Linked DNA regions of Homo sapiens: region 2 is linked to region 1. The links are contacts of gene promoters, found by promoter capture Hi-C in blood cells and fetal thymus (Javierre and others, 2016). All regions are on one chromosome and are shown on one strand. Each heading gives the region's core, a stretch centred on a gene start or on the middle of the fragment in contact. The rest is flanking DNA. Distances are from core to core; before and after follow the strand shown. Region 1 holds the start of HMGXB4 (HMG-box containing 4). Region 2 overlaps APOL6 (apolipoprotein L6).

What was found. The method cuts DNA at HindIII sites, captures the fragments that hold promoters and counts their contacts. A CHiCAGO score of 5 or more calls a contact.
Region 2: a contact is called between a fragment that was not itself captured here and the fragment with the promoter of HMGXB4 in region 1, in 1 of 17 cell types (naive CD4 T cells). The highest score is 5.6, in naive CD4 T cells.

The regions. Positions count from the first base shown.
Region 1 is chr22:35,253,220-35,260,715 of GRCh38, forward strand. It overlaps HMGXB4 (HMG-box containing 4), which reads left to right and starts at 4,274. Exons shown (of 11, transcript NM_001003681.3): 1 at 4,274-4,338. LOC105373017 (a long non-coding RNA gene) reads right to left here. Exons shown (of 4, transcript XR_938210.3): 1 at 4,969-7,496; 2 at 3,994-4,042. RefSeq lists an enhancer at 3,568-4,068 and a silencer at 4,334-4,833. The HindIII fragment of the contact is 10,131 bases long and covers 4,094-7,496 here.
Region 2 is chr22:35,654,405-35,661,900 of GRCh38, forward strand. It overlaps APOL6 (apolipoprotein L6), which reads left to right. Exons shown (of 3, transcript NM_030641.4): 2 at 1,975-2,071; 3 at 4,211-7,496. The coding sequence starts at 2,022. The coding sequence ends at 5,192. Among named protein-coding and RNA genes, the nearest start is that of APOL6, 9.7 kb to the left of the region's middle. RefSeq lists an enhancer at 6,445-6,554. The HindIII fragment of the contact is 3,900 bases long and covers 2,680-6,579 here.

The sequences.
Region 1 (7,496 bases), core at 3,024-5,523:
ACTTCGAAGTGGGGAAGGGGCCCTGAAGATAAAAATCCATTAGGAAGCTATTGTAATAGCCCAATGAGAGATGGCCCATCTATTGGGGCACATTTTTCTTTTACATTTGTACCATAGTAATTATGGACTTAGACTTGTTTTACATTGCCCACAAAACACACATACACACAGAAGATAATAAGTTGCTCAAAAGCAGGAAAACAAGTATCATTGCTTCACCATAGGGGACATTTATTATTTGTCTTCCCAGAATAGATCCCCTTTCTTTTATAGAAGGACTAATGTCCTATTGCAACTTTGTGGTATCCCAGGAACTATCACAATACTGAATGATCACATGACCCCATCCCAGCCAATTGGAGTTCTTCTCTTGGATTTTGTGCGCGCGCGCGCGCGCGTGTGTGTGTGTGTATGTGTGTTGCTGATGTGGGAACATGCTCTTTCCTCTCTGGTCAGGAGACTATAAAGATGTAAGCCTGGGCTACCTGTGGCCATGATTCCAGGCCCCTAGGGACTGCCAGCCTGAGAGAACAGAGTTAAGAGGGAAGGATTTGAATCCCCGGACCCAGCTGTCCAGAGGGCCTGCTTCTCTCTGGCTCTGAGTAGTTTTTGTTTTGTTTTGTTTTTTACATGAGTTACATATTTTCTACTGGTCTCTTTATTTTTTTAATTTTGCAATTTAGGGCATACACACAGACTGAGAATCTGTGGTATGTCCCTCTGCCTGTCTCTTAAGGTAGTTTTAATTAGGTCCTGTCACTTCTAGCAAAAGGCCCTGGCCTAATGTATGTACCCAGGATGGCATCCTCCCATCAGACCGAAGACAAAGACGCTGCTCAAAACACATCTGGAAAGAGAAGAGCACAGAAAAGTGGCCTGAAGAAAGAGATGTCCAAACCAAGCACAATTTGACAGGCCCCACCTGTTGCTGCCAGGCACCAGGCAGTTTTCCTTAGATCAGGTGGACCAGAGAACTGCCCCACACTTAGGGAGTGCCCCCTCTTCACATATGCTAGATGCTATCCTCACTTGCCATGGGAAAAGGCATTCTTATTCACAAACCCCACCATGACTAGGCCTGCCCAGAGGGTCCTCTTTTCTGTCTTTCCAAGTTTCAAAAATGCAAGAGAACTATGAAAGATAGTCAGCAAAGAATACTTTTCCAGCAAGGTACAGAGGAAGCACTTGAATACATTCAAGGAACTATGATCTCCTGGCTCCCACCACCAACCCACTTCTGGCTGAGCTAGCTCCGGTGTGCACCTCAACAGAGAAGCCTCCCTGATTACTGTTTTAAAGAACAAGCTGTTCCTACCCACATCCCCTGCTGGTACTCTCGTAGCCAACCTGGCATTATTTTCTCCACCTCTGATTATCACTGAATGTAGTATTCATATCTTAATTTTGTGTCCCCCAACCCAACCGGAATGTAAGCTCCTGGGGGCCAAGGACTCTCAATTCTGTTCACTGTTCTATTCCCAACACTTAAGACAGTACCTGCCACATGCTGTGTTTTCAATAAATATCTGTTTAATAAATGGAAGTGCAATGATCCAAGACTGGGAGCAAGTTAATAGCATTTTGTGATTGAGTGAGTAGGCTGAGGAGAGATCTGACTTCAGGTCTCCAGGAGCTTAAAATGAGCAAGAACTTGATATGCTCCATCTTCAGGTGGACTAAAAGAAGAAATGGGACCAATAGGACTCATAAGGCTTTTAGGTCCAAGCTAGTGGTAGAGTGTGGGGACAGCTACTGTTTTTGCCTACCTAACATGCACTCACCCTTCTGACAGCAACCCTTGATTTTCTTTGTGTCTACCCCAACCTAATTTTGGAGGTAAGCAGATGACCTAATTTAACCAATCAGCAGCAGCAGCAGACTCCACACCTTTACTCATAGTGATTGCTTTTTGTCTGGACACATGATCTAATTCAGGCAATAAGAATCAATCCCATGACTTTTGCCAAAGCAAAAGGGAAAAAGAAACTCCTTCCAGGGCCAGGCATGGTGGCTCACATCTGTAATCCCAGCACTCTGGGAGGCCAAGGCAGGAGGATTGCTTGAGTCCAGGAGCTTGAGACCAGCCTGGGCAACATGGTAAAAAAAAAACAACAAAAAAAACCCATCTCTACAAAAAATACAAAAAGTACCTGGGCATGGTGGCATGCACCTGTGGTCCCAGCTACTTGGGGGGCTGAGGTGGGAGGATTGCTTGAACTCAGGGGGTCGAAGCTGCAGTGAGCTGTGATCGTGCCACTGCACTCCAGCCTGGGTGACAGAGAAAGACCCTGTCTCAAAACAAACAAACAAAACCTCCCTCCACAGGGACACTGCTAGCAGGAAAGATGATGAAGCTTGGAGCTGCTGGAGTCATCACCTGAATCTGAGAATAAAGCTAACAGAGGAGAGCACCACAGACACGTCAAAGGACCAGCTTGAGTTACCTCCCTGGAAGTGACCATGTCTGCAGGTACTGGAAATTTCAATCATGTGAGCCAATAAATTCCCCTCTTCTGGGGAAACACATGGAAATGGGTTTCTGTCACAACTGAAATCATCCTGACCAATGGATTTAGGGCTCTGAAGAACAAAAAGGAAATACATCATTAGGGCTCTTAAATGCCTCAAAGGGAAGCCTAACGTCAGGCAGGGTGTCCCAGAAATGCAATCTAACACCTTTTGGTGAAACTCATTGCCTGTCTTTTTGGTGAGTAGGATGGGAGCTGCGGAGAAAAAGGCCATGCTACTTTTATTAAGTATTTGCAGTTACATTTTGCAAATGATTTCAGCAACTTTATCTCAGGTGTTTTAACATCTCAGCATCTCACAGTTGTAAGAAACAGAATCAATCTTCTACTCAGTGCAGAGGGGGAGAGAGCATGATATAGCAAAAAGAGCACTGAACCAGAGTCTAACAATCTGGCTTTTCATCTTTATCTGATCACTGATTAGAGTGTGGTCTCAGACAAATCACCTTGCTTTTATTGGTCTCATGACTACCTCGTCTTCAAGCACTCACCCAACTCTGCAATGGAAAATACACTAGGACAGAGGTTCTTAATTTTTTATGGGGCCTGGGCCCTAGGAAAACACACACTGCACACATGATTTTACGTTGCATGGGGTTCACAACTCTAGAAGCCAATCTACATCTCTAACTTCTCTGCTTTACAGTAACACCAGCTTCTGCTTGAGCGCTCCTCCAGTGGGAGGGAGCTCACTACTCACAAGGAAGCCCATTGTACTACTGAACTGTACTAGAAAAATAAGTTATTCTTCATATATATATATATTTTTTGAGATGGAGTCTCACTCTGTCCCCCAGGCTGGAGTGCAGTGGCGCAATCTCGGCTCACTGCAATCTCCGCCTCCCGGGTTCAAGCGATTCTCCTGCCTCAGCCTCCTAAGTAGCTGGGATTACAGGCACGCGCCACCACGCCTGGCTAATTTTTTGTATTTTTAGTAGAGACGGGGTTTCACCACATTGGTCAGGCTGGTCTCGAACTCCTGACCTCAGGTGATCCACCCACCTCAGCCTCCCAAAGTGCTGGGATTACAGGCGTGAGCCACCGCCCCTGGCGTTCTTCTTCATATCAAACCAAGTTCTATACACTGTAATTTCTACTCATTGGTCGAAGTTCTCAATGGCAAATCAGAAAAATTGTGTTCTCGCCTGTATATGACATCTCTTCCTCTCTCTCTCTGAAGACTGTTTCTAACTAAAAAATGTAGATGATTCGCCATGCAAATTATTTTACTGTACATTGTTACAAAGATAAGTTCTTCACCTCACCCCTAATATGCCAAATGTTCAAATGTAGATGCTGAAGTCCAAATAAGCACACTGCTATTAATCTGCATAGATCTAGGTGTTGCAAAGAGGAGAACTGCTGTATAACAATATCTTGAAAGAAACAGCATAGTATTTTGGGGAAAGCACTGCATTCAGAATCAGAAGACTTGGAGTAATACTCGGTCTCACATTCCAACTACCTGTGTATCCTTGGGCACGTCACTTAACTTCTCTCAGCCTGGTTCTCTTCTGCAAAATGCGACAGGAATACAGTGAGGATTAAGTGAAATAATGTTTGTAAGCTTCTAGGGCAAGGCTGGGACATAGCAAATTCTCAATAAATAAGTGCCAGCTCCCGCGCTCAGCAGGCTCCGAGTTTTATTCGATGCGCTCGGCGCTCTTGGTCGAGCGGGATTCCCCCTCCGGAGCCCGAGTCTGCGCTCTGGGCTCGACTGAGGCTCCCTGGCCGCTCGCGCTTTTCTCTCCTTCTCCAAGATGGCGGCGATCGGCGGCGTTGAGGCGGGATCCGGGCGAGCCGAGTGAAGGTAGCGGCGAGCGGAGACCCCAGGAGACCGGGCTGGGCCCCCACCCTGAGGCGGCAGCAGCCCCGCCCCGTCGCCACCCGCCGCCCTGGGCCCGCGACATCACCTCTGGGGTGCCCCAGGCCCTTCGCGGCCTAGCCCAGGGGCCGAGCCGGGGACTGGAGTAGCGGCCGCAGCCGCCCCCAGGAAGGGGCTGGAGCGGGCAGAAGGAGGAGGGCGGGCGGGAGCTGTTCAAACGGGGAAGGCGGGAAAGCTGCGGGGCCGGGAGGGGGCGTGCGGCCGCCCCGGGGGCCTGCGGACCCGGGCCGCCCCTCCCCCTGCCCGGGCCGTCTCCGCCCTCGGGGGCGCCGTGAGGCCGCCGGAGACGCGGGAACCCGGGTTCAGGTCGAGCTGTGCGGCTCGGAACCCGCGATGCGGGGGTCCCTCGGGCTGTCAGGGGGAAAGGGCTCGTGGCCGCGGCCACGGGAGGGCTGGGGCTGCGGCTGGCAGGAGAAAGTACGAGGAGCTTTCTTCTTTTCCTCTTCACAGAGCTTTGTTGAGCTAGCTGTTGCCGCAAAACTGCCGGGAGAATCCCACTGGTTTGCCTTGGGGACCACAAAAATGGTGGTCCTGGGGGCTGTTTGTGTAAATCACCTGGTATTTTGTGTGTTTCTTGCGTGCAACCCGGCTTGGCCGTGCCTTCGTGGTGGGCGCCTTCTCCATGCAGGCCCATTTTCCCTCCACCAACTACTACTTGTAGATTCACTTTATAGCGTGCAAAAGCGGAGAAACATCTCTGTCCCCTCTTTTGGAGGGCTAAGCTGGTGGCTGATTATATTTCCTCCTAATAGAACAAAGTAAAAAACTGAATCCCAAATAAAGCCTGTTGATTGGACAAGGCTTCTCAAAATTCGATTGCTGGTCTTATGGAATGTGTGTTGTCAGCCAATCTGTGCGGTGGTCGTGGTTCCGCTTAATTGCACTGCAATGAGAGGATTCAATCCCCATCCCCGACTGTCGGGATCTCTGCAGCTTCCAGAGCTGGCAGGGGCTGGGAGTGCTGCCTAGGTAGGTCCCTGGAGAAGGGAGTGGCAAGAGGATTCGGAGTCACCGTGTTCGGAGATTGGAAGAAACCTGGACGAAGTTGAGAAGGCATCACTTGTCTGTATCGTAGAAGTAACAAGAAAATTTCAGAAATTGGCAACCGGCGGATGTGCATCTTCCTTTACCTGCACTGACTGGCATTTTGAGTTCTTGAAAGGAGTGGTTGGAAGAAGAGAATGCAGAATCTTGGACATGGCTCTCATCCTGGAACAGACCTGGAGTTCAGAATTTCTCTTACTGTCCGTGTGACGGGGCTTACTTTGTTTCCTTTTTTTCGATACTCATTTACATTATGGGGTGAAGAAGGTTGTTGATTGCAGGAGCTCAAGTTACCTCAAAAAAAGTCTGAAACCTGTTTTTTAACTGTAATTTGAAGTTTCAAAATGACAAAGTGCTATATCTGAGGACTTTTTCCTCCTGATTACTTTGGTCATCCCAAAGGCCTATGCCTGAACATAACTTGTATGCTTATCTACCAGGGAAAGAGCAACTCTGCCCCCTCCTTTTTCATATCCTGAAGAAAAGTCCCCGAAGAGCTATTTAACAATTTGTGCATTTCATAAGTATACATTTTTATGGTACCAGTTTTTTACTTGTATCAACAGTATGAAATAGTGAACTTTTACTTATGTTGTCATATCTTAGCACACTGAGACAAACAAAATTATTCTTGCCTCTTGGAGTTGACAACATTGAATTTTATAAACTCCCAAATTATTGAATTGAGACTGGGTTTTAACACCTGTTTCACATTTGCCAACATTTAATGTAATTATGACCTCCCTTTTCTAATGTGAAAATCAAACCTAATATTCATTTTCATTAATCCTCACAATCTACTCTCTACCCCTGAACTCTGAATTTTCACAGATTGTATTCAAGACCTGGAAGGAATATCAGGGGTTCATCTGATCTTATATAAATGTTGCCTGAACTCTGCCTTTCTTTCACACTGTTGCTTGAGATTTATCTGGTATCTTTCCAAAACTAAACCCTGAGCTGCAATAATATCCTGATTTTAAAGAACGTAGAAATTCAGGGCCCATCGGTCTGCCCAAGCTGTGGCTGATACAGTCCGTTGTGTTTAATTTTAGTTTTTCAAGCTCTTGGCTGCCCCAGTTCTTCAGTGAATTGGACGTGTCTTCAGGCCTCATTCCTTCTTTTTTCTTCAGGTTATTTAATCCAGTAATTTATAAAATGCTCTTCAGTGTTTTTAAGAAAATTTAAACAGTGGTAGACCTAATATATGTAATGCCAACACCACATTTTCTTGGTTGGCCTGTGCCTCTGAGAAGCAGTTCCTAATTTTCTATTCCCTCTCACAACTTTTTAATCCACTAGTTTTTTAAAGCAGCCAGTAACGAGACCACGATACAGTCATCTTTCTTTCTTTCTGTCTTCAGAGGTACTTATTTCTATTCTGTTAGGTTGCCCAACTCTGTTTTATGTTGATTTTGATGTTACCAAAGGGAAGGCCTGTTATAAGTCTCAGGACCAGCCTTTGCTTACATATACAAGTGCATTTTGTTGTTGACAAAACACTGATGACTGTATTTATGACATTGAATATTTAAGTTTTTTGCCATTATTTCTGAAATATTCTTTGCCAAAATTCATGCACAGAAAGTGTTTAATTTGAGGTCTCCATTGGTTCTTGGCATTATCAGCCTATGAAAATCTATATAATCTATATATTTTTCTTATAAACTCAGTATTTTAGTGCCATTGAGAGGATATGCTGTTTTCAAATAAATTGATATAATTCCCTGTATTTCCCTTCTACCTGCACCCCTTTTGGAGTCAGCACCACTTGGGTGGAAAGGGGAGGACAGTAGTTTCCGCTGAGAAAGTGTCATCCTTAAATGCTGGAACATGGAAAACTGGCTACATTATGTATCTTGCCTCCTCACATTTTTATCTGAGGCCTGACCTTATGTCCCCTTCGTTTCCTATGAAAAGGCCCTTCGAACAGGCAGTTCTCCAATTGAACTTTAAAACAATCCAGTTAATATAGTTTCATTACTCTAGCTTCTCTTACTTTGACCAAATCCATTCTTTATTTCACTTCTCAGAGAAGT
Region 2 (7,496 bases), core at 3,380-5,879, 400 kb after region 1:
GTGGCTAAAAGGGGTCGGTTATGGTTAAGAAAAGATGCTCTTTTCACCTTTACTGCTCTCATCGCTCAGGAAATTCCAAGGGTTTTAAGAGCCCTGTGCCAGAAATGGGGATAAGAACTCTCTCTCTCTCTCTCTCTATATATATATATATGTATATATACACACACACACATACACACACATATATATACACACGTATATGTAATTATATATCTATATATAATTATAAATCACAATATCACAACATATTATGTTCTTGGGAATACAATTTGTACAAAGGGGCCTTGTAAATTACTGCTTTGTTTGGTGAAAATGATCCTTTAATCATTACAGTCTATGTGGTCATAATTGTGAGAGAACAGAATAAGCTACCCCCAGATATGCCTCTTTGGCATAGGGATTATTGAGGCGAAGGCAATTAAGAAGCAGCAGATGCAGGAAGGTTCTCTGTCCTCTCTCTATTTGCCTAAAAGCAAGATCTAAATTTACAAAGGTCTTTCTATCAAGGAGAATAAAGGTTAACCACTGAGAACTTTAGACCCTTATAGGCCTGGAGATGGTACCAGAGGAAGCTGCGTAACAAAACTTACTGACTAGTTTCTTTCTATCCTTCATTTCCTATTTATTTGTCTACCCACAATTTGGTGGCCCTCAAGATGCAAAGTCTTTTTTCTTCATCTTGTCCCTTCTCTAAAATTGTATAGTTCTTTGTTGAAGGTGGCTATATAAGCAGGGAGTTCCAAGCCACTCCTTTGAGAATTATTTATTCCCTGGTGTCTCCTACATACACTTAAGAGGTACATATTAATCCACTCCTGTTTGTTTTTCTCTTATGAATCTGTCTTGGGTTACAAGGATCCTAGCTGAGAACTTAGAAGGGCAGAGGGAAAATTATTTTTTCCTCTCTTATAATATCCATCTAAGGAATCACTTACCCAGGTCAAGATGGAGAAAAGGAGATTTCCTTGTACTTCCTCCTCCCAGTCAATAATCGCACTACCCGAGAAGAAACCTCGATTCTGACTTCTACAACCAATTCATTTGCATATTATTGAGTTTCATATAAATGGAGCCATTTGTTTGATTTCTTTCACTCAATAATAATGTCTGTGAAATTATTCCATGTTGTTTGGGTATCAGTAGTTTTCAAAATTGTTATTGCTATGTAATATTTAACTATATAAAAAAACTATAATTTGTTTGTTTATTCTTCTGTTGATTGATGTATTTGAGTTGTTACCAGCCCTTGGCTATGTATGGGAGGAAAAGTAATTTTTTTCTCAACCCTCATAAGTTCTTAGCTGGAACAGACTCCTGTAACCCAAGACACATTAACGAGAGAAAACCAAGCAGAAGCGTATTAACATGTCTATTTCATATGGACATGGGAGAGATCCAGGGATTAAATAATTCTCAAAGAGGTAGCTTTGAATTCCAGCTTCAATACATCTCCAACAATGAACAGTACATTTTTAGAGAAGTAGCAAGACAATGGAAAAGGGTTTTGAGTCTCCAGCAGGAGCAACTTGTGGGAAAGTAAGTCAATGTCATCTTTGGTGATCAAACTTTATCCTTCTTGTTAGTGAGGAGACAAGGGACAGCTTTACCTTTGTCAATTTATGTCTTGCTTTTAGGCAAATAGAGGGAGGGTGGAGAACTTTTCTTGTACCCACTTCTTCTCAATTACATTTGGCTCAAAATAATCCTTATGCCAAAGTGGCATATTTTGGGATGGTGTATACTGCTACCCTCCAATATAGAGGTAAAAATGTATTGAACTGACTATTTCACTGTATGCATTTATTGTATGTAAGCTACACCTCAACATACAATTTTCAAATAATAGTTTGCAAATATTTAGTATGCTATGTGGTTGTTATTTTGATAGTACATAATCCAAAATCCCTCCACACCTGAATTTCATAAGGTTTCATCATATGTGCAGTAACGTTGTTTTTCTACATTCCTGACCAGAAAATCATTTGACTCCTGGGGACACAGATTTGCTGCCACAGAGGCTGATGGACAACCAGGCGGAGAGAGAAAGTGAGGCTGGTGTTGGTTTGCAAAGGTAATCCAAAGGGTGTAGTCCCCAGGGAGAGGGCTGATTCTGTTGAAATGCTGCAGGCATCCTCACGATAAGGAATACATGTGCTCTGATAGGATTAGCTGTTAAGTGGGCCTTATCTTACCGCTGGTCTCCATTATGCATATGAAAATCTGTTCCCCTAGGGAAAAAAATACTTCATGGAGCTAAAGTAAATATTTTGGAGAGCAAGTCAAGATTAAGTCAGGCGCATGGCTTTGGGCAATAGGACTCCAAAGACAAAAATTGCTCCACTCTGGGGCCTCATCTCTGCAACTGTCTTGAAGACAGGAACTCCATTTCTTCAGCTCATATATCACCAAGGAAGGAAGCCATTTGGTGTTAACAAATTAATGAATTTAAGCCCAGTTGTCTGTAAATCAGCAGACGTAGCACCACCGGCCCCCTGCACAATGTGTGCAAGTAACAAATATTTGCTGAGTGAATTAGACGAACTCTATGTGTAATATGTCATGGAACTGGACTGAAATGTTATCCAATGCCAGTAGACATCACCAGCTGATACAGGATTCACTGGAGCAGAGGTGTTCACATGTGAGACGCTTGGTTTAATTAAGAAACACATGAAGTCAAGCTTCTGTTAGTTATCAACCATGCTAAAACCAAAAACTTTACAGTTCATACACAGTGGCGTTGTTGATCTTTGCAGCTACATATCTATTTGCTGTTTCTTTTTGTCTAGCATACCTTGAGGAAACACAGAGATCAGGGTGGGCTAACCTATGGCATCTTTTATGTCTGGGGTTCTTTGTCAGGGCCACCCCGCTTGCCTTCATCCCACCCCTTCCCCATTGCAAGCCCTGGTGACCTTCTGCTCTGTTAACTGATTTACACCTGTGGATTAATAGATAATTGTGCCTAAATTTATTAATTCATTAACACTTAAAACATATGCTCGATGGTATATTTAGTTTCTAATCTTTCCCACTGAGGAATTGTGTGCGTGTGTGTGTGGAAAGAGAGATTTAAAGATAAATACATTTATGGACATACATATACTTCAATGAGGAGGCCCTGACATCAACTGACAGGTGAGAGGAAAGGCAGAAAGCACCAAGTTTAGGACTCAGAGCCCACCCAATGCTCCATCTTTACCTTGCATGTTCCTTTGGGAGTGTCCTCTTTTCTCTCTGGGCTTGAGGCCCCCCACTGAATCATAAAGGAGGTGGCCCAGATCCTCTCCAGGCCTCCCTCCAGCTCTGATGTTCTTCTTTGGGCCAGGGCATCTGTTATCACCAGGCCTCCTCGGCTCACCCTGAAGGAAATGCACAAATGGCACCTTGCATGAGAAAATGCCCCAAGCAGCAGGCTTTGCTCTCACCCTGATGCAGCTCTGCCTTGAAGGTCAAAGCCAACTGGCCTGGCAAAGATCCCTTCGTACTTCATCCTGTAAAATGTTGGAGGAAGAGGGGCCTAGGTCTCTTTGTCCCAAACTTCTTCCATGAAGGACTAATCCCATCTGCTTGAAGGGTCAAGTAAAGCTGACCAAGAGCAAGGAGAGCATTCAGGACATGAATAATAATTTATCTCAACTCTCAATGTGCAACTCCTGATAGAAGCAAAGACACACCCCAGAGTAACCAGATTCGAGGTCATTAGAGTGGAGGATGTATGATGCAATATGGCCCCCTCCACCCTCCTACTCACTTCTACACATCTGGGACGCTCATCCCCTGCCCACCACCTTGTCTTCTCTTTCTCCTACTTTTCCCAGAACTCTCCCGCCATTGTTCCCAAGTTCTTTATCTTGAGTGGGGTTTTAACATTTCCCCACTGCCCCTCCTCTGCAGCAGTGCTGTGCTTTCTCTGAACAAGGCTGAAAACATACCTCAGGACTTAATTTTCCTTCCCCATTCCTTGACCAAGGCTGGGGTGATTCACATTTGTCCTTCCACATGCCCCTCTTATGTGTTTCTTTTTTCCATGGAACCAGTAGTTTTCAGCGAAGGCTGAACTACTCTACAATGCTCTAGGACTTTTCAGGGGATTTTGTAGGGAGGTACAGGGAGGATTCGAAGCTGAGAGTGGCAAGAATATCCAAGAGCCACATGGGTTTTCCCATCTGGGAAGCTGAAGCAAAATCTTTATTTCATTTCTCCTCAGGGATGAGGATGACGCTCCTCTGTGTGAAGACGTGGAGCTACAAGACGGAGATCTGTCCCCCGAAGAAAAAATATTTTTGAGAGAATTTCCCAGATTGAAAGAAGATCTGAAAGGGAACATTGACAAGCTCCGTGCCCTCGCAGACGATATTGACAAAACCCACAAGAAATTCACCAAGGCTAACATGGTGGCCACCTCTACTGCTGTCATCTCTGGAGTGATGAGCCTCCTGGGTTTAGCCCTTGCCCCAGCAACAGGAGGAGGAAGCCTGCTGCTCTCCACCGCTGGTCAAGGTTTGGCAACAGCAGCTGGGGTCACCAGCATCGTGAGTGGTACGTTGGAACGCTCCAAAAATAAAGAAGCCCAAGCACGGGCGGAAGACATACTGCCCACCTACGACCAAGAGGACAGGGAGGATGAGGAAGAGAAGGCAGACTATGTCACAGCTGCTGGAAAGATTATCTATAATCTTAGAAACACCTTGAAGTATGCCAAGAAAAACGTCCGTGCATTTTGGAAACTCAGAGCCAACCCACGCTTGGCCAATGCTACCAAGCGTCTTCTGACCACTGGCCAAGTCTCCTCCCGGAGCCGCGTGCAGGTGCAAAAGGCCTTTGCGGGAACAACACTGGCGATGACCAAAAATGCTCGCGTGCTGGGAGGTGTGATGTCCGCCTTCTCCCTTGGCTATGACTTGGCCACTCTCTCAAAGGAATGGAAGCACCTGAAGGAAGGAGCAAGGACAAAGTTTGCGGAAGAGTTGAGAGCCAAGGCCTTGGAGCTGGAGAGGAAACTCACAGAACTCACCCAGCTCTACAAGAGCTTGCAGCAGAAAGTGAGGTCAAGGGCCAGAGGGGTGGGGAAGGATTTAACTGGGACCTGCGAAACCGAGGCTTACTGGAAGGAGTTAAGGGAGCATGTGTGGATGTGGCTGTGGCTGTGTGTGTGTCTGTGTGTCTGTGTGTATGTACAGTTTACATGAATGTTCCTCAGGACATGGCATACAATGGCCTTGGAGGTCCAAATAATATCAAGTACATCTTGGAGATGAGGGTGCCTGTCCTGGACAGACCTCGGCATGCCTTCTGTTTCTCCTTCAATGCTCCTTAAGGCCTATGTGCTGGGAAAAGGGTCTTCCCTGTTTGTTTGTTTGTTTGTTTGTTTGTTTGTTTTGAGACAGGGTCTCTGTTGCCCAGGCTGGAGTGCAGTGGCGTAATCTCGGCTCACTGCAACCTCTGCCTCCTGAGTGCAAGCAAGTCTCCTGCCTCAGCCTCCCAAGTAGCTGGGATTACAGGCACGCACCACCACGCCCAGCTAATTTTGGTATTTTTTTGTAGAGACAGGGTTTCACCATTTTGGCCAGGCTGGTCTCGAATTCCTGACCTCAAGTGATCCACCCACCTTGGCCTCCCAAAATGCTGGGATTACAAGCGTGAGCTACCCTGCCCAGCCGGGTCTTCCCAGTTTTAACAAAGAGGTCACAGAGCCACAGGCGGAGTTAGGAACTAAATTGTCTCCTCCTCCCAATTCATATGTTGAAGTCCTAAACCAAAATGTGGCTGTATTTAGAGATGGACCCTTTGGGAGGTAATTAGGGTTGACTGAGGCCATAGGGTGAGGTCCTAACCCGATGGAATTGACTTCTTTATAAGAGGAGGAGGAAATACAAGAGGGCCTCCCCACCCCTGCTGCACACCTACACTGAAGGAAGGCTATTTGCAGATGCAGCAAGAAGGCAGCCATCTGCAAGGCAGAAGAAGAGAGCCCTCACCAGGAACTGAATAAGTCAGTCAGTCTGGGACTTCCAGCCTCTAGAACTGTGAAACAATAAATTTCTGTGGTGTAAGCAACTCAATCTATAGTAGTTTGTTACTATTTTGTTATAGCAACCAAAGATGACTAAGCCAGACAGGTTATGTCACTCGCCAAGTGTCTTAGTCTGTTTGTGCTGCTATAACAAAATACCTTAGACTGGGTAATTTACAAACAACAGAGATGTATCCAGAGATCCACAGTTCTGGAGGCTGAGAAGTCTAAAATCAAGGCACCAGCAGATTCCACATCTCGTGAAGGCTCACTCTCTGCTTCACAGATGGCACTGTCTTGCTGTGTTCTCACATGGCAGAAGGGGCAAACAAGCCCCCCTGGGCCTCTTTTATAAAGGCACTAACTCTATGCCTAAAGGCAGGGCCCTCATGACTCTATCACCTACCAAAAGGCTCCACTTCTTTATACTATTGGAGGGGTAGAAGGAACTTCCTTTCTAGACCTTGAAGGTTTAAGAATTTGAATCTATAAAACAAGCTGACAATAGACAGATTAACAGGAGAAAAAGCATATACATTTTTTAATGTGGGCCAGATGGCAGAAGCTTAAATAACACCCCAAGCTACAGGAAGTGAGGCCTCTGATGGGGAGGTAGTGACACAGGCTGTGGGAGGGGGTAGGGGGAGGAAGTCTGTGGTGAGCAAAGTTTGCCTTATTACACTGATAAAGTGTAATTACACTAATAAAGCTGGATCACCTGAGGTTAGGAGTTTGAGAACAGCCTGGCCAACATGGCAAAACCCTGTCTCTACTATAAATACAAAAATTAGCCAGGTGTAGTGGCAGGGCACTTGTAATCCTATCTACTCGGGAGGCTGAGGCAGGAGAATCGCTTGAACCCAGGCTGTAAAGGTTGCAGTGAGCCAAGATCATGCCACTGCACTCCAGTCTGGGTGTCAGAATGAGACCCCATCTCAAAAAAAAAAAAAAAAAAAAAAAAGAAGAAGAATACAGTCATGTATCTCTTGGTGACAGGGACGCATTCTGATAAATGTGTCATTAGGCAATTGCATTGTAGTGTGATTATCACAGATTGTACTTATACAAAACTTAGATGGCATAGCCTACTGCATACCTAGGCTATATGGGAGAGCCTATTGCTCCCAGGCTACGCACCTGTACAGCATGTGACTACTGAATACTATAGGCAATTGCAGCACAATGGGAAATATTTGTGTATCTAAACATATGTAAACAGAGAAAAAGGAAAGTAAAAATATGGCATAAAAGATAAGAATTGGCTCTCCTGTACAGGGCACTTACTACGAATGGAGCTTGCAGGGCTGAGAGTTGCTCCAGATGAGTCAGTGAGTGGTGAATGAATGTGAAGGCCTAGGGCATTACTGTATACTACTGTAGGCTTTATAAACACAGCACACTTAGGGTACACAAAATGCATATTAAAACATTTTCTTCCTTCAGTATATTAGGCAATAGGAATTTTTCAAGTCCACTATAA